5 separate regions of the Homo sapiens genome follow, and all the other regions are linked to region 1. Evidence: promoter capture Hi-C in 16 types of primary human blood cells and fetal thymus (Javierre and others, 2016). All regions are on one chromosome and are shown on one strand. The core of a region is centred on a gene start or on the middle of the fragment in contact, and the rest is flanking DNA. Distances in the headings are between cores, read along the strand shown. Region 1 holds the start of CSRP1 (cysteine and glycine rich protein 1). Region 2 holds the start of TIMM17A (translocase of inner mitochondrial membrane 17A). Region 3 overlaps IPO9 (importin 9). Region 4 holds the start of MIR1231 (microRNA 1231). Region 5 overlaps NAV1 (neuron navigator 1).

Evidence for each region. The method cuts DNA at HindIII sites, captures the fragments that hold promoters and counts their contacts. A CHiCAGO score of 5 or more calls a contact.
Region 2: a contact is called between the fragment with the promoter of TIMM17A here and the fragment with the promoter of CSRP1 in region 1, in 1 of 17 cell types (erythroblasts). The highest score is 5.1, in erythroblasts.
Region 3: a contact is called between a fragment that was not itself captured here and the fragment with the promoter of CSRP1 in region 1, in 3 of 17 cell types (M1 macrophages, erythroblasts and megakaryocytes). The highest score is 5.9, in M1 macrophages.
Region 4: a contact is called between a fragment that was not itself captured here and the fragment with the promoter of CSRP1 in region 1, in 4 of 17 cell types (monocytes, endothelial precursors, naive CD8 T cells and 1 more). The highest score is 5.9, in monocytes.
Region 5: a fragment that was not itself captured here is called in contact with the fragment with the promoter of CSRP1 in region 1 in 4 of 17 cell types (monocytes, M1 macrophages, M0 macrophages and 1 more); the score reaches 8.2 in monocytes.

The regions. Positions count from the first base shown.
Region 1 is chr1:201,505,553-201,508,984 of GRCh38, forward strand. It overlaps CSRP1 (cysteine and glycine rich protein 1), which reads right to left and starts at 1,571. Exons shown (of 6, transcript NM_004078.3): 1 at 1,518-1,571. CSRP1-AS1 (CSRP1 antisense RNA 1) reads left to right here and starts at 1,661. Exons shown (of 2, transcript NR_160747.1): 1 at 1,661-1,867. RefSeq lists a silencer at 1,273-1,902. The HindIII fragment of the contact is 16,293 bases long and covers 1-3,432 here.
Region 2 is chr1:201,953,891-201,957,322 of GRCh38, forward strand. It overlaps TIMM17A (translocase of inner mitochondrial membrane 17A), which reads left to right and starts at 1,613. Exons shown (of 6, transcript NM_006335.3): 1 at 1,613-1,662; 2 at 3,391-3,432. The coding sequence starts at 1,637. RefSeq lists an enhancer at 1,602-1,891. The HindIII fragment of the contact is 2,275 bases long and covers 1-2,182 here.
Region 3 is chr1:201,865,221-201,868,652 of GRCh38, forward strand. IPO9 (importin 9) reads left to right here. Exons shown (of 24, transcript NM_018085.5): 15 at 1,513-1,739; 16 at 3,428-3,432. Among named protein-coding and RNA genes, the nearest start is that of MIR6739, 3.6 kb to the left of the region's middle. RefSeq lists a silencer at 3,410-3,432. The HindIII fragment of the contact is 1,004 bases long and covers 1,241-2,244 here.
Region 4 is chr1:201,806,273-201,809,704 of GRCh38, forward strand. NAV1 (neuron navigator 1) reads left to right here. Exons shown (of 34, transcript NM_001389617.1): 22 at 1,681-1,877; 23 at 2,146-2,338; 24 at 2,431-2,599; 25 at 2,892-2,989; 26 at 3,170-3,265. All of the region lies in intron 2 of IPO9-AS1 (IPO9 antisense RNA 1), which reads right to left. It overlaps MIR1231 (microRNA 1231), which reads left to right and starts at 2,339; the gene lies at 2,339-2,430. The HindIII fragment of the contact is 1,207 bases long and covers 1,052-2,258 here.
Region 5 is chr1:201,786,143-201,789,574 of GRCh38, forward strand. It overlaps NAV1 (neuron navigator 1), which reads left to right. Exons shown (of 34, transcript NM_001389617.1): 13 at 287-435; 14 at 2,326-2,496. The region is part of intron 2 of IPO9-AS1 (IPO9 antisense RNA 1); the gene reads right to left. Among named protein-coding and RNA genes, the nearest start is that of MIR1231, 21 kb to the right of the region's middle. RefSeq lists an enhancer at 1,922-2,422. The HindIII fragment of the contact is 4,587 bases long and covers 1-3,432 here.

The DNA of each region.
Region 1 (3,432 bases), core at 321-2,820:
GACAGTTCTCTCCTCCCTCTCCTCTAACCCACACTACACCCTCTGCAGGATAAACTTCCTTCCTCGTCTGACTGCCTCCGCCCCGGATATCCTCTCCAAGGCAAAGAGTCATTCACTGGAAGACCGTGAGCAGGAGGAGGCTGGATTTAGGAAACAATGGGTAAAAGCTGCCCTCCAGCAGCTGAGGGCTGAGGACAGTCTCTCTCAAAAGAGGTAGCCAGAAACCAGCTGGAGAGTCAGGAGGCAGCAGTTGAGTGAGAGCAGTTGAGGGGAGGCTCAGTACCCATCCCCAAATCCCACCTGGGGAAAATCCCCAACATGCAGTCTGAGAGGACAGAGGGAGACAACCAGCACCTCCAGCCTCCTTAGCTTCTGGGAGGAAGGCAAGGGATGAGGGGAGGACAAGAAAGACAGTAACTGAGAGATCACTCCTGTGTTGGAGGTTCTGTGTAATATGCTCCCCAAGTAGCATCCCTGAAAGAAACTGAGACATTGAGAAGTTAAATAGTTTGTCCAAGGAAACCTGCGCGTTAAGTGGCAAATCCAAGAGTCAAAACTCTGCCTTCCAAACAATCCCACCAAGACTCCAAGCCACCTCTTCATGATATACTGATATACTTTCTACCAGGGCCCAGTGGATTTCCTCGGTGCCACTGTGATAGTATCCCAGCGTGGGGAGAGCCTGCCCATTCATTCACTCTCAGGGAGCAGCTGGTGGGTGGCTGGAGCCCAGGGCTCTAGGCAGAGCCTGAGCCCACTATTGCTCCAGCCGATTCCTGGGTCCTGGTTAGTTCACAACAGCACCAGAACCAGAAGCATGCAAAATATTCTCTAGTCTGTACCAGTAGATACAATACCTGCCTCAGAGGGCTGATTGTTAGCTAACACATTGTGATTTGCTTTAAATGTGCTCAATACCAGCCCCTTTATCACTTCCCAGCTTTCAAGGACTGAGGCCACAAAACACTGACTGCAGGCTCTTTCAGGTTTCAGTAACCATCACCACCTAGCACCAAGATTTGGAGTGGAGAGGTTTCCATGCAGTTATTTCACAAGAGGGAAAACTCACACCTGCGCTCAGGGACACAGATGTCCAAGGTCAGGCCCAGATGTTTGCCCCACCCCGCCCGCGGGCATTTTCTCCCCAGCAGGAGGGTGAGGGAGGGGGTGGCACGGATGCCCTCATCTCTCTGCCATACAATGAGCGTCAGTGGCGCGCAGAATCGCCGATTGTTCTGCCCGACTTGCAGGCGGTTGCGGGGAGCCGGGTCGCCCTGGGTCACGCACACGCGGAAGTCAACTGTGTCCAGGAAGCCCAGGAAGGCCCGGGATGGGGACGGACCTAGTGCCTCCAGAAAAGAGCAGCACTGCCCGGGCTAACTGCGGTCACTTCTCACAGTTCCCCGCCTGCGACAGCCCCGGGGCTGCGGCGGGGCTGGCAAGACCGGGAGGCGCTGAGTGCGTGCCCAGGCGCCCCTCCGCGGCGGGCAGAGCCGCGCGACTCAGGGCGCACTCACCTGGCAGCTGGCTCGGCGGCGCAGGGGCGGCAGGCGCTCTCGGAAGTGGCGGCTGGGTGCGCCCGGCCTGCGCGCCGTTTTGTTCCGCTCCGCGGAAGGCGTGTCCCGGGCCACGCCAACCAGTGGGCTTTGCACACTGCACCACTCCAGGGCTGATGTCATGGCGCGAAGCCCGGCGGTGCTGCCCTCCTAGGCCCCGGGAAGGCCGGCCGGCAGGGGCGGGGGCAGGAGTCGCCGACTCTGGGGGTGCTCCGAGCTCGTGCTGCGGTCCCACTGTGCGCCCTGTCGCCGCCACCGCGGAAAACGTCTTGCACGTGCGAGGGGCATTTCAGGAGTTTCCTGTCTGTCAGGTGAGAAGGCGGAGATATGACCTTAGAGGTCAGACCCATGATAAACTTGAGCCCCTAACGAAAGGGTGTCTCGAATTTACTTGTCCTGGTGGCAGAGGGTGAGGGACACATTTTGGGCGCCAGGGTAAGACAGACCCTTCCAGGGCAGGTCTGATTCTGCCCATCCACTCACTAGCTGGGCCCTGGGCCTAGACAGCCCTTCTGGGTTCAGGGTCATCTGTGAACGGCGTGTAATCTACAGGGATGTGAGGGGCTAAAAGGAGATCCGGTAGGACCCGCAGACCTTCAGCAGCACCCGGCATGTAATAGACACTCAATAAATGTAACTCCCCCCTCCAACAGCTCTTGCCCCTCAGTTTTTCCCAGTCTTCCCTGCTACCCTAAGGACAACACCTGGAAAAAGGTGTTCTCCCGCAAAAGCAGCAGTTCTGAAAAGTGGGTGCCTCCATAGAGGCTTTTCTCTGGGGCTCCAACCTTCAGTAGGACAGACACAGGCTCAGGCCACTCAAGCTGCCCCTGGGGCAGTTTCCAGGGGACATTCTGTCCACACCTCCTCACCCAGTCCCCAGCCCTTCCTGAGTGCCCCGTGCAGGCATTTCAGGGAGCAGAGAAGCTCACAGCCTCCAGCTGGTCACCCTACACCCCAGGTGGCCCATAGATGCAGCTGCTATGTCTTCCACCCTGGGCAGGTGTCAAGGGTTCAGGCCCCAACCGGCTTCACTTAAAGCCCTGGTTTGCTGAATCAACTTTTTGCCAGGAATAAAGTTAAGCATCTTATGATCTAGAAAATGAAGTATTTGGCCAGGCACTGTGGCTCACGCCTGTAATCCCAACACTTTGGGAGGCCGAGGCAGGCAGATTGCTTAAACCCAGGAGTTCGAGACCTGGTGAAACCCTGTTTCTACAAAAAAATTAAAAAAATTAGCCAGGCGTGGTGGTGTGTGCCTGTAATCCAAGCTACTCGAGAGGCTGAGGTGGAAGGATCACTTGAACTCAGGAGGCAGAGGTTGCAGTGAGCCAAGATTGCACCACTGCACTCCAGCCTGGGCGACAGAGCAAGAGTGTTTCTCAAAAAAAAAAGTGTTTATCTAGGTTTTTCTTGCTTTCTACCATAAGTAACATCTTTCCTTTGGCCAGGTCCATCCTATAAACAAGGCCCTCCAAGATTAAAATGTCTAGAAGCACACAACCAGTGTTTCTTGCAGATTGGGCCATCTTCATCTGACCCAACCAAGATGAAGGAGGAGAAACCAGAAGAATTTCTGGTCACGGCTGCACTGACTAAGCAATAGTTAAACAGGTCCATTAAACTGCAGAACCACCATCAGTGTCAGAGACCAAGGGCTTCCGCCCAAAGATGGCGATCCCATGGGATTTCCCCCTCTCCTTTCAATTCTCAGTATCTTGGAGAGATGAGCCTCGGAGTTTTGCCCAGGATTTTACAAAAGGGCAAACTCCTACATTACCTTCTTTGGTCTGGGTTTGTCCTCTCTGGAGTCATGGGACTGTTGATAGATTTCCCTGTGAGGACATGCCAACCTGTGCTGTGAAATGGCTTTAGGGTA
Region 2 (3,432 bases), core at 363-2,862, 450 kb after region 1:
TTAGCTCACTGCAACTTCCACCTCCCACGTTCAAGCCATTCTCCTGCCTCAGCCTCCTGACTAGCTGGGATTACAGGCAACACGCCAGGCTAAATTTTGTATTTTTAGTAGAGACGGGGTTTCACCATGTTGGTCAGGCTGGTCTCGAACTCCTGACCTCGTGATCCGCCCGCCTCGGCCTCCCAAAGTGCTGGGATTACAGGCGTGTGCCACTGCGCCCGGCCTCTTCCATTATTTATGACATTGACTTTTCCGTAAAATAAATATATACATATTTTTAAAGTTAATTACAAACGTACAGAATGGAGAGGAGCACTTTAACAGCCATCACATGATTGGGATTTTGTTGACAGTAAACTAAAAGCTCCATGGGTCCCAACCTTTTTTTTTTTTTTTTTTTGACAGTGTCTCACTCTGTCACTAGAGTGCAGTGGCATGATCACAGCTCCCTGCGGGGTAGATCTCCTGGGCTCAAGCTATCTTCCCGCCTCAGTCTCCCGAACAGTCAGGGCTACAGGCACGTGTCACCACGCCCGGCCTGGTCCCCATAAGTCCCCTCTTCTCCGAGCCAAACATCTTCACACCTTCTGGTGATCATTAGTGGAGAGGCCTGTGAGAGGCTCTGGTGTCAATGTCCCTGAAATCGAGGGCTCCAAATTGGTCATGGCTCTCCAGATGGCCCAAACAGTTCCAGTTCACAAACATTTATTGAGCATCTACTACATTCCAGGCACTGTGGTTATTATAAATCACTGAGACACTGTTTGCCCTAAAGGAGCTACGTGTATTTGGTAACAGCTTCACAGTAAGTGACGAATAAGATAGCATTAATCCACATTTGACAGCAAAAGTACCAAAAAAGAAAGAAAGAAAAAGAAGAGAGAGAAAGGAAAGAAAAGAAAAGAAGAGAAAGAAAGAGGCCGGGTGCGGCGGCTCACGCCTGTAATTCTAGCACTCTGGGAGGCCGAGGTGGGCGGATCACGAGGTCAGGAGTTCGAGTCCAGCCTGATCAACATGGCGAAACCCCGTCTCTACTAAAAAAACATAAAAATTAGCCGGACCTGGTGGCGCCCGCCTGTAGTCCCAGCTACTCAGGAGGCTAAGGCAGGAGAATCGCTTGAACTCGGGAGGCGGAGGTTGCAGTGAGCCGAGATCTCGCCGCTGCACTCCAGCCTGGGCGACAGAGCCAGACTCTGTCTCAAAAAAAAAAAGAAGAAGAAAAGAAAAAGAAAGAAAGAAAAAGGATGGAAGGAGAGAAGAAAAGGAAAGGGGGAAGGGAAGGGGGAAGGGAAGGCGGAAGGGAAGGGAAAGAAAGAAGCGTATTTAGGCAGTATCGCGTTGATTTCAGTCCACGGAACCTCTGGTGACCGGGTAGTGTGACTCCGTCATTGGTAGCCCCCCGCCCACACAGCCGGGACTCGCGGCCTTTGAGGACGTGGGCAGGGCCAGTCTCGCCACGCCGCGGCCAATGCCCCGACCACACGCTGGCCACAGGAGTCCTGGCTCCCATTGGCTGCAGCGGGAAATGGTGAACCAATGCTCATAGACCTTAACGCCCTCCTCTCGGGATCACTTCCGCCTCTGGGGTCAGGCTCCGCCCAGCTTGCCCGGCATCACTCGCGGCATTGGAGTCAAGATGGAGGAGTACGCGCGAGAGCCTTGGTGAGCTTCACCGCTGTCTTTGCATTTCTCTTGCCCCCCTGCCCACTGCCCTCCTTCTCCCTTGTCCAGGCTCCCAAGGTGCAAGCCAGACTCAACCGCAGCCTCGTCGACTTGGGCCTGGTAACTGGGCAATGCGGTCTTTCGCGGCCAGTCGGCTTCTTAGCCCTGTACTTAGTACCTCCCCGGCCGCGTGAGCCTCCCTCTCCCAACCCAGCACCCGTGTGACCTTGTGATGGATGGTAAGGAGGTCCAGACTTGAGTTTGATAGAACCTCGGAACCTCCTCCCAACGCAGGGCGTAATCGACTTTATGCGGGGCCAGTTATAATCCCCCCTGTTCGTCGAGGTGACCTTGGGCGCGTCCCTCCGTCTCGCCTTGCTCAGTTCCTGCGTTGAGGAACTGAAGAATAGGCATTTGAGGGAGTGTCATTCTTGAGGTTTTACTTGTATCATGATATGTGTCCACAGAGTGAAGCATTTTAAATGAATGGAACATAGATTTTAGCCAAGGGGTCTGGATAAGCTTCTTTATTGCGTGGGGCCTTGTTTTCCTTCTTGGAATTCTTTCTTGAGGGTAGAGGGGGACAAAAATTACCTGGGAAATAGGAAGAGGTAATAGCATGTGTTCTCTGAAAAGCCATGGACAGAAATTCATTGTTACATCCAGCGTTTATTGAGTATGAATAAACCAGACACATAGATAATTATAAAACGATGTAATTGCTGTCAGAAGTCTCAGGTTGCCAGAGTTTAAAGTTTCTAGGGTCATAGGTAAAAAATCAAATCTTGATATTTCGGTTAATCATTTGTTTTATTGTGTAAGAGCAACAACCAAGATGTCCTCAATTTGTGAAAGTGCCCAGGACCTTAAATTACTACTCTGGTATCCTAGCCTTGTTGCATGTTTTATGTTCCCCTCTCCCATAAATGGCATACAAAATATAAGTTTTAGGGTCTCCTGGCTCTTCAAACTTATCTTCTTCAAAGCAGTTATCCTCCATTCTGGATTGTGCTCAGATATGTAGGACTCAGCACACTGTAAATAGCTGTTTGATGTACTATAATGACACAGGTTAGCAGAGAGTTAAAATATTTAACTATGTTGAGTTAAAGATCTTAGAAAAATAAGGCCGGGTGTGGTGGCTCACGCCTGTAATCCCAGCACTTTGGAAGGCCGAGGCGGATCACGAGGTCAGGAGTTCAAGACCAGCCTGGCCAGTATGGTGAAACCCCGTCTCTACTAAAAATACAAATATTAGCCGGGCGTGGTGGCACGCGCCTGTAGTCCCAGCTACTTGGGAGGCTGAGGCAGGAGAATCACTTGAACCCAGGAGACGGAGGTTGCAGTGAGCCAAGATTGCGCCATTGCACTCCAGCCTGGGTGACAGAGTGAGACTCCATCTCAAAAAAAAAAAAAAAAACAACTTAGAAAAATAATGGGTTTTCATTTACTAAATCATTAGGTAGCCCCTTTGCTTTCTCTTAGTACGTATGCCCTGAAACAATATAATCAGTTACCTGGTTATCTTTGTAGTCAAAACTGCTTTGATTTTTTGACTGCCCTGTTTGATTACAGCATTTCCTCAAGTCATTTTATAGGCCAAATATTTATTGGTTGCAGTGGGCCCTGCAGTATAATCTGTTCCATTATAATCCTTACTGTATTGGCAAAGAAGATTTTATGGTTTGTGAATGAGAAATATGGTCTTTTTTTTCCCCCTGTTCTTAGCCCATGGCGAATTGTGGATGACTGTGGTGGGGCCTTTACGAT
Region 3 (3,432 bases), core at 493-2,992, 360 kb after region 1:
TTCTGAGACGGAGTCTTGCTGTCTGTCGCCCAGGCTGGAGTGCAGTGGCGCGATCTCGGCTCACCACAACCTCTGCCTCCTGGGTTCAAGCAATTCTCCTGCTTCAGCCTCCCCAGCAGCTGGGATTACAGGCATGTGCCACCACACCCAGCTAATTTTGTATTTTTAGTAGAGACAGGGTTTTTCCATGTTGGTCAGGCTGGTTTCAAACTCCTGACCTCGGGTGATCCGCTCGCCCCCACCTCCCAAAGTGCTGGGATTACAGACATGAGCCACCGCGCCCGGCCTGCAGCTGTCTTTTCTAATGTCACTAGTAACCTTTTAATGATCAGCATTCCACCGTTGCTTTTCTTTTTTTCTTTAGCCCCAGTTTTAATTTATTCCTTCATGTCATAGTTTATGTATCATTGCAAACTCCCTTAAATAATCTCTGAAACAAGATACTGATTGACAAATAATTATACTTGTTTCACATTTTTCAACTCAAATTTATGTCAGACTGTATTCGCCTCATTTCAATCAACAAATATTTACTGAATGTTGCTTATCATGTCCAATATGATACAGTTGTTAAAAATACATTGTCTAGGACCAGACACGGTGGCTCACACCTGTGATCCCAGCACTTTGTGGGGCCAAGGCAAGTGGATCACCTGAGGTCAGGAGTTCGCTCCATTTCCCACTTCTATTCTAAGGGTTTATAGTTACTTTGCCCCTCTAATGAACTTGAAACTGTACCGTATGGTAGATTACAGAGTTTGCATCATCTATCTACATCATGCTGGATCTTAAATGCCATGCTGAAAGAGGTTGGACTTTATTTTGGAAGTCGGTGTTTCTTTAACTTGTGTTACTCCTAACACCTAATCTTCTCTTTACCCTGAAGTCTCCAGGGGAAACTGATGTCCCACGAAAATATTATATATATATCCTGTGGCTTCCTATACTGCCTGACATAATATGACTTTCTTCTGAAGTACCTCTGTCTCAAGTTCGAAGAGAACAACTGGGCCACCTGCCTTGGCCCCCCAAAGTGCTGGGATCACAGGTGTGAGCCACCGTGCCTGGTCCTAGACAATGTATTTTTAACAATTGTATCATATTGGACATGATAAGCAACATTCAGTAAATATTTGTTGATTGAAAAGAGGCTAATACAGTAAAACTATAGAGGGAACTTTAAATCCTACAGCTAATAGGCTGATTTTGAAAGTGAAACATAAAATGTTTATATAAATTAAGCTTGTTTCAGGATGCAAAAAAAAAAAACCTCAAGAAAAAAAGCAGAAGTTTTTAAAGAAAATAGCAAAAGTCAAAGAAATAAATTACAGAACATAGAAATGGTGGTGTTGATGTTTATATAATACATCCAGAAAGAAGTAGAAACTTAAACCTAACTTTAGAATTAGCTTTATAAAGCTACACATACAAATGCTATAATATGTGAGATTGATTGGGAAAACCAGGAATTGAATTTTTTTTAATAATTCTTGCTTATCTATCTCTCTCTAGTTATTGTGACCAACTGAAAGTCTCAGAGAGTACCCACGTGCTCCAGCCCTTCCTCCCCAGCATCCTTGATGGCTTAATTCACCTAGCAGCCCAGTTCAGCTCAGAGGTCCTCAACCTGGTGATGGAGACCCTGTGCATCGTTTGTACAGTAGACCCCGAATTCACAGCAAGCATGGAAAGCAAAATCTGCCCCTTCACCATCGCCATTTTCCTAAAGTACAGTAATGGTATGCTGCCAGGGAGGATGTATTATGAGGGGCACCAAAGAAAAGGTGGTGGCTGGTGAATTTAAATGAAAGATTCCCTAGGTCTGGTCTTAGCTATGAAGCTATGGTTTTAACATCGTAAGCAAAGAATCTGGCTTTCAATTAGCAAAAAATAGAATTGTGCTGTAAATGTAGCAGCATTAAAAAATAGAGTACCTATTTCTGTAACACTTACTCTCTAGTAAGGACTTAGGGATAAAGATAATAAATAAAGGGCTAATAAGCAAGAGACATAATTCAGAACTTTGATGATAGAATAGGAAATTGGGCAAATGAAAAGCCTCCTAAAAGAAAAGGGCTAGGACTATAATTTAGAAAAGGAGATACTAAAGAAAGATATATGGAAAAGTTTATAAACAAAGGTATTCACTAGATATTTTTTACAGTAGTAAAAATTTGGAAATTATAAAAAGACATTAGTTAATTATATCCATAAAATGAAATACTGTGCAGCCATTAAAAATCAAGCTTAAAAGGAATATCTGAAACCATGGGAAAGAGCTTACATTATAATAAATGAAAAGATACTTTTCCCAAAAAATCCATAGAATATGATCCCAAGTTTTGATTTTTCTTTTAGAAAAGCATGTATGTATAGATAGGTATGTTTTAAAAAAAAATACATCAAAATGTTGAGTGTTTAGGTAGTGGAATTACAGGTGTTTTCATTATTACTTTTCTGCATTTTAAGTTTTTTTTTTCCTGTAGTGAATGTATTTATTAATACCTTATTACTAGTAAAATATTAAGGATTCTTTTTTTAAAGAGAGAGCTCCAATATTGAAGCTCAGAAAGATGTACAGGATAAGGATTATTTATATAATGTGATATACTGAACATGTTATTTGATAGCTTTTTCACTGAAAAATGTGTACTGAGGAGCTTTCCACATTGTGTTCTTGGATATATCTCATTCTTTTCAGCCATTACTAATGTTCCATAAAATGGGTATATCATAATTTACCCATTCTGTTAATGGACATCTAGGGTATTCCCAATTTTTTTCTATTACAAACAATGCTGCAGTGATCTTTTAAGGTATACTTTAATGCACATTGCCTATATTTTTCCATACTAAATAGAGGAGGATGTTTTGTTCTATAGATAAAGAAGATTGAGCTAAAGTTCCCTTTCTTCATAAGGCTCTGCTTTTTAGGAGTTTTGCCTTTTGCCCCAGAAGTAGCTTTGAGAGTTCTTCATGTCTACCGTGGCTACCCCATAGGAGATATGTATGATTTCTCTCATGCATCAAAGCCAGTGTTTTGGCAATTTTTGCAGCTTTCATGTCTTCTTAAAGTATCAGTTGGGCTTTTTTTTTTTTTTTAAGCATTTGGTTTTATAACGTAGGTTTCACAAGAATAAAGACTTTAAAGATTTTTCTCTAGAAAAAGCCACATTTTGTTTTATGAGTAGCTGTTAATGACTAGTCCCTACTTTAATGAAGCCATACAAAGTGTACCTCTTGCAGATTTAGGATCTCTCCTGTTCTTTCAGGTTATTCATGTGGCCCCACTAGGTCCCGGGTATGTGATAAGTAATCAATGCAGAAGTTGTTAACTTAGGTTAGGGCCAAACAACAGGCATCATTAAGCGAGAAGCAGATGCAGACCATCAGGCAGGGGGATTCCGTGTTGCCTTATCCACTTCAGATCCC
Region 4 (3,432 bases), core at 405-2,904, 300 kb after region 1:
CTGCGCCCAGCCTAAGTACTGCATTTTCTACATCTGCACAGAAAAAGTTGTGAGATATCCCCCAGCAAATAATCTTGTTTCATTTTGCTTAATCCATTGTTCCCTAAACTCATTTAACCATGGAACCACTAGCCACATAACACCAAACATCTCGGAACAGTTCTGGCTTTGGGAATACTGAACTACACATATTCTCACTTAGGATCTTATTGATCTTAGGGGCATATGCTTCAGGCAGCTTGTCATAGGATCTCTTTACACACACACACACAGCATCCCATGAGGCAGTGCTATGGAGAAAACTTCACTGGATTGAAAATTAGGAAGCCTGAGTTCTAGTCCTAAGTCTTACGTCAATTATGCAATTTCAAGCAAGTCAACTCTCTGGCCTTTTCAGGCTTGGTTCTTCATCTCTACAGAGAAATGAGCTTTATGGTACTTTTGAGCCCTGACTGCTCAGTGATAAGAAGTCACCTGGAGCCAGCCAGCTGCACACATACTCACTCATTCATGTCTCCACCACAGCCAAGTTGGTCCTCCTTTACATCTTGCCTGGTGGAAACCCCAAGATGCACCACCCACCAGCTCCATCCATCACCTGACGGCCTTCCTATGTTCCAGGAGAGACGCTTAGAAAGCGTACCCTCAAATTTTTCCTTCTTTTTTCTCACCGTCCCAAAGATCTGGTTTGCCTTTGTCCCCTATAACCTTTGACCCCTCCTTTACTCTCTGCCTCTTGCTGCCATTTCATATCTGTGTCCCTGTGTGTGTGTGTGTATGTGTGTGTGTGGTGTGTGGTGTGTGCATGCTGTATGGATGCATGTGGATGGGTATGGGACAGGACCCTGGTTTGCATCTCTAGCTCACATCCCTAACACCCAAGCTCATCAACACCAAGATCAAACAAGCTATGGTCAGATTATAATGCCCCAAGTACTCTAAAGAAATGCTGGGAAATAGCCCTTCTTCTAGGACATTGGAAATCATAGAAAATGCTGTCTGGCTGTTTTAACCATTCTGTGATGTCCTGGGCACAAGAAATACTAAAAGAAGCTTGAGCCCACTGCCTTCTCGTGTTCTCCACAGAATCATATTGTCAGTTTCTGGTTGACAGATGACTAGATGAACAGATTCTGGGCTGATGAGCCCTAGTCAGAGGCATCATGAGGTGGCCTCTGAGGCCCACAGTGAGCCAGGTTCTAGACTGAGCGGTTATTGTTCTGCTGCAGAAGGTGGGATTGGATCACTGAGCTGTATACCATGTGACCTCTGGGACCTTCTCTCTGTCCCCATCAGGGGCACAATTCCCCCTATGAGCAAGAGAACACCCAGGAAGTTCCCATAGCCTACAACATCAGCAAGCTAGAAGATTCTGTTCTTTCTCTTGGTCCTAATTTCCTTTCTTTCTTTCTTTCTTTTGAGATGGAGTCTCACTCTGTTGCCAGGCTGGAGTGCAGTGGCTCGATCTCAGCTCACTGCAACCTCTGCCTCCACGGTCCTAATTTCTAGGCAACTCTTCTGTCCGTATTCTATGAATCAAGTGAAGTGTTATAGAGGGTGGCTTAATTAAAGTAAATCCCCCGCCTCCAGCTCTCTCTGTCTCAGAAGTCTCAATCCAGTCCTCCCCCATCCCAGTAGTGGAGTCCTAATGTCCCTCTACCTGGATCTGCTTTTTTCTAGCTTCGAAGTTCCTTCAACAAAGCGTTCAGTATAAAAAAGGGGCCCAAGTCAGCTTCCTCATACTCGGATATAGAGGAGATTGCTACACCCGACTCTTCAGCCCCCTCATCCCCCAAACTACAGCATGGTTCTACAGAGACTGCTTCACCCTCCATCAAGTCCTCCACCTCGTCCTCCGTGGGCACTGATGTCACCGAGTAAGTGCTCTTTGGCTCCCTGCCACCCAGCCTGTTACCAGTGTAAGCTGTGGGCTAGAGTTGACAGGAGGCCATTAGACCTTAGACAAGCAGTACTTATTACTGACCTCTCCCTGGGCATATGAGACCAACAGATGGACCTTTCTTCTCATGCTGATTGAATATCAATGGGCAGGAGAAGCCAAGACCACCAACCATGCCTCTCAATATTCTCTAGTAACTCTAGTGCTTCTTCATGTAGCCTGGCTTGACTCTTGCTATCTTACAGGGGCCCTGCTCACCCAGCCCCCCACACTAGGCTGTTCCATGCAAATGAGGAGGAGGAGCCAGAGAAGAAGGAGGTATCGGAGCTGCGCTCTGAGCTATGGGAGAAGGAAATGAAGCTTACAGACATCCGCTTGGAGGCCCTCAACTCTGCCCACCAACTGGATCAGCTTCGGGAGACCATGCACAACATGCAGGTCAGTGTCTGGGCGGACAGCTGCAGGAAAGGGAAGACCAAGGCTTGCTGTCTGTCCAGTCTGCCACCCTACCCTGTCTGTTCTTGCCACAGTTGGAGGTGGACCTGCTGAAAGCAGAGAATGACCGACTGAAGGTAGCCCCAGGCCCCTCATCAGGCTCCACTCCAGGGCAGGTCCCTGGATCATCTGCATTATCTTCCCCACGCCGCTCCCTAGGCCTGGCACTCACCCATTCCTTCGGCCCCAGTCTTGCAGACACAGGTACCTGTGTGGGAGAAGAATCTATAAGGGTGAAGGGAAGAAAAGGGCTTATTTCACTGTTACACCATTCCACTTGCTTTGGTCAGGGCGGTAACAATGCCGAAGCCAAGCAGATGCCAGTGTCCTAAGACACTGAGTTGTAATGGTCCTTCAACCTTAACTACTTTTGAGTTTGGGACCTCCATTCCTTCTCTGTGGCAAACAGAGTTATTTTGGAAAGGATAATGATGGGAAAGTTTAGGAAAGGCTGCGGGTACTCCTAAAACCAGTTGGTTCTTTTCAATCCCCACAGACCTGTCACCCATGGATGGCATCAGTACTTGTGGTCCAAAGGAGGAAGTGACCCTCCGGGTGGTGGTGAGGATGCCCCCGCAGCACATCATCAAAGGGGTAAGGAACTTCAGGGAGAGCCACAGTGGGAATGAACAAATACTGTTACATTTATCCAAGAAAATCTGGACCCTGGGTACCTCCAAAACCAAAGAACTCAACTCCTAAGGCCTTTAGGACCCCGGTTCATGGAGTCATCTGCAGTGAAGCTCAAGAGCTTTTCCTTCCTTGGCCTTACAGGACTTGAAGCAGCAGGAATTCTTCCTGGGCTGTAGCAAGGTCAGTGGAAAAGTTGACTGGAAGATGCTGGATGAAGCTGTTTTCCAAGTGTTCAAGGTAAAGGGATACCTGTACTCAAAAAGGTTGTTCATCCTCTCGTGGAATATATATACTTTTTTAGAGACAGGGTCTCACTCTTGCCACCCAGGCTGGAGGGCAGTGGCGTGATCACAGCTCACTGCAGCCTTGAACTCTTGGGCTTAAGTAATTCTCCTGTCGCAGCC
Region 5 (3,432 bases), core at 415-2,914, 280 kb after region 1:
AACTTCTGAGGAGAAGTTCTAATGCCTCCTCCATCACTTCTGCCCCCAGCTCAGGAACCCTTACGGGAATACCTGCTAGTCCTTCCACACCCTCTGGATGGTCTGGGAGAGGAGGCTGAGTCGCCACCTCTTACTCCCTCCTTGGGCAGCCCTGACCACTCCCTCTTTTCCATGTCCTGCTTTCAGAATCTCCTGGCTCCAGCCTAGTTCAGACACCCTCCGCACCAACTAAACCTCTGACCGCACTTGCTAGTCCCAGACTGAGTTCTTCTGCTGCTTCCTACAGGTACCAGCTTCAGTCCCAGGAGGAGACCAAGGAGAGGCGACATTCCCATACCATTGGTGGGCTGCCTGAATCCGATGACCAGTCAGAGCTGCCTTCTCCCCCTGCACTTCCCATGTCTCTGAGTGCAAAGGGCCAACTTACCAACATAGGTTAGTGTTTTCAGTCACTCACTGTGGCATGGGGTGAAGCAGGGGTCACCCTGCAGGGTGAGGCAAGGCAGGTGGGCTTTGGGTTTCATCTCATGTTTGACTCATGCTGTATTGGGTTGTTTCATGGTGCCTCAGTTTATCCACCCAAAGTAAGATTGAAGGTAGAGTACTTTGAGATCCTAAACTGAAAAGTTGCCCCTAGGCACAAGTTGTAGGGTCCTTTTAGCATCAGAGAGCCTGAATGGTGGCATGGAAAAGCTGTAACCCAAAGCCCAGAGATCAGACCAGTGCAAGAGCAGGCACATTGAACTGCCGGAAAGGAGCCACCACACCCAGTACTACTAGGGCCAGCTAATGAGAGGGCAATACTGAAATGTCAGGCCGACGGGGAGGAAGGAGGGAAAGGTTGTTGATTGCCAAGGACGAGATCTGCCTCCAAACTCAGCCAAGTCCAGATTCCTCAACTGCTCTGGCTGAGCCCAGGCCATCCTAACGCTGAAGGCAGGGCTGACTCAGATGTGTCCTGGCCACCCCCTTCCTAAAGCCTAGGGAGAAAGGAGAGCTAGGAAATAAGGAAGTGACTTAGAGACAGGGAGGAGAGGAAGCATCAGGTGGAGGGTCTGGCCTAGCACAGAAGCACACCAGCTCCGGTTCTGTGAAGCAGTACGCCATGATTGGCCTACTAGGAATCCATTCAGGAATAGTGCCTGGGATAGGCCTGTTATCTGCTTGCTGCATCTCTTTAAATCCATCTCTTCTTTCAGCTGAGTAAAAGAAATCAGTTAATAAAAGACAAGGACCTGTAACACACCCATGCAGTGACTGTGGGGAATTTGAGGAAAGACTAGGAATTGGGATCACTTGGCCTAGGGAAAAGAACCATTGTTCAGACAGGATCATCTGCCCTCTGAAGGGCTACTAAATGGAGGATGGGGCCAGCTTGTTCTCTATCTCCATTGAAGACCAAATAAGAAGAATTGCATTTATGCTGCAGAATGAGGGGCTGGGCTAAGCAATAATTACCTCAGGAATTTGAAAAGGTCAACAGAGAGGTGTGCCATCTTCTTCTGCACAGGTCTTTATGGACAGATTAGACATCCACCTGCCTGTATGGAGGCAGAAGAATAGACAAGGGAGCTCCTTGTGGGTATGAAACCCTGAAAGGCTGTAATCCCAGCAATGGGCAAAGGGGTAAGGCATCTGCAGGTTAACGGGATTCAGCTGAACCCAGCTTCAAAGCACATTCCACAAGCCTTACCTGACACTTTCACCTGCTCTGTCCATCTGACCTTCAAGCCGGGGCAATGCTAGGCAAAGAGGGCCATGTTTCTTGATGCTTTAGCGCCAACCCAGTCACTCAGAGTGACACTACTTTGTGGGGAGATTCTCACGCCCTTCCACAATGCCAGGGCAACGGGATCCCGTAGCCCAGCCCCCTTCTCTAGCTGGTGCTTTTTCATCATTCAGATCTGGGTCTTGGTTTGAATTTTCAGTCCTCCTGAGCTGGCAGTTGTGTTTTAGAGAACCACAGCATCTCATTTTCATCAGCACATCCGAGTGATGTGAAGGTCTCAGAAAAGCTGCCAGGCCCCCAGCCTAACCTTCAAAAGCAACAACTCTGAGGCAGGCAGGGTTGAGGGAAGGTCTTTATTCCAGACAGCAGGGTCCTTCTCCATTAGGGCTTGATCTCCCCAGGAGGGACCCCGCTCCTAACCACCAGCTGCTTGCACACTCCCACCACCGCACCTGCCCCTTCCTCTCCTGCCCTCTCCCCATTTGCCTCTCATGCTCCCGGTGCTCCATCCCCCAAGGGCCCGGAGAGCTGATGACCCTGCCTCTTTTCCTGCCCTCCTGCTCCCTCTCCTGTCCCCCTTCCCTCTGTCCTTCCAGTGAGTCCCACTGCGGCCACCACGCCAAGAATCACCCGCTCCAACAGCATCCCCACCCACGAGGCGGCCTTCGAGCTGTACAGCGGCTCCCAAATGGGGAGCACCCTGTCCCTGGCCGAGAGACCCAAGGGAATGATTCGGTCAGGATCCTTCCGAGACCCCACGGACGATGGTGAGACTTCATGCTAGCGCGGTTCACGCTCATTCCAGCTCTGCTGGGTCCCCTCACCCACCACCTCCACTCCCACCACTCCTACCACCACACACATATATGATTCACAGAACATCAAGTTGGGCCATTTCAGTTTTTTCTCCCCATCCCTTTGAAGGGTCTGGGGACCCAGAAACCTTGGGTGGCACATCTAGCACTGGGGCATTGGGATGGAGCATCCATCACTGGGGCTGGGGGAGGGAAATTGAGCATGGAAGGGTTAAATGGCATCCCTCAGGATGCTCTGAAAACCACAGCTTCTCTCCTCCTCATTCTAGCCATAGTCTTTCCTCCCCACAGTCTCTCAAATATATGAAAAGAAAACAGGACATAATAGTAGCTCTTAATAAATCCTTACAAATAATTAGGCATCTCATTTCTCTTTCAAAAATGTTCCAAAGATGAGCATCAGGGAGGGCCATCTGATTGTTGGTGGTGATCTGGGTGTTAGTACTGATCAGAGCTAGAAGACCAGGCTTATGGCAGGTTAGCTCTCCCATTATTATTTTCAAGATGGTCATTCCAGGAGGCATCTGCTACAGACATGCTTTAGTTCTCACCATAGGTTCTACTGAATAATCAGAATGCATATTCCTCACTTAAATATTGTTTTCATCTGAATGATCCCCAAGATCCTAAGCACATCCCCCAGTGCTGAGAGGAGGAGGCGCGGGCAGAATTTCAGTATTTGTTCTGAGCAACTCTGATGAGAAACTCCCCTCTCCTGCGGCTAAGGTGCTTTCCTGACTGGGAAGATAAGATGATGACTATCCATGAAAGTCTCCTTTCCCTTCTCTGAAACCCCGTGCCCCTCAGAGCGGGCTAAGCAAGGGACTGCCATACCCAGGCTGCCAGAGAATGTAGGCTGAAAGAGGAGGCTAGCTTGACTCAAGACCT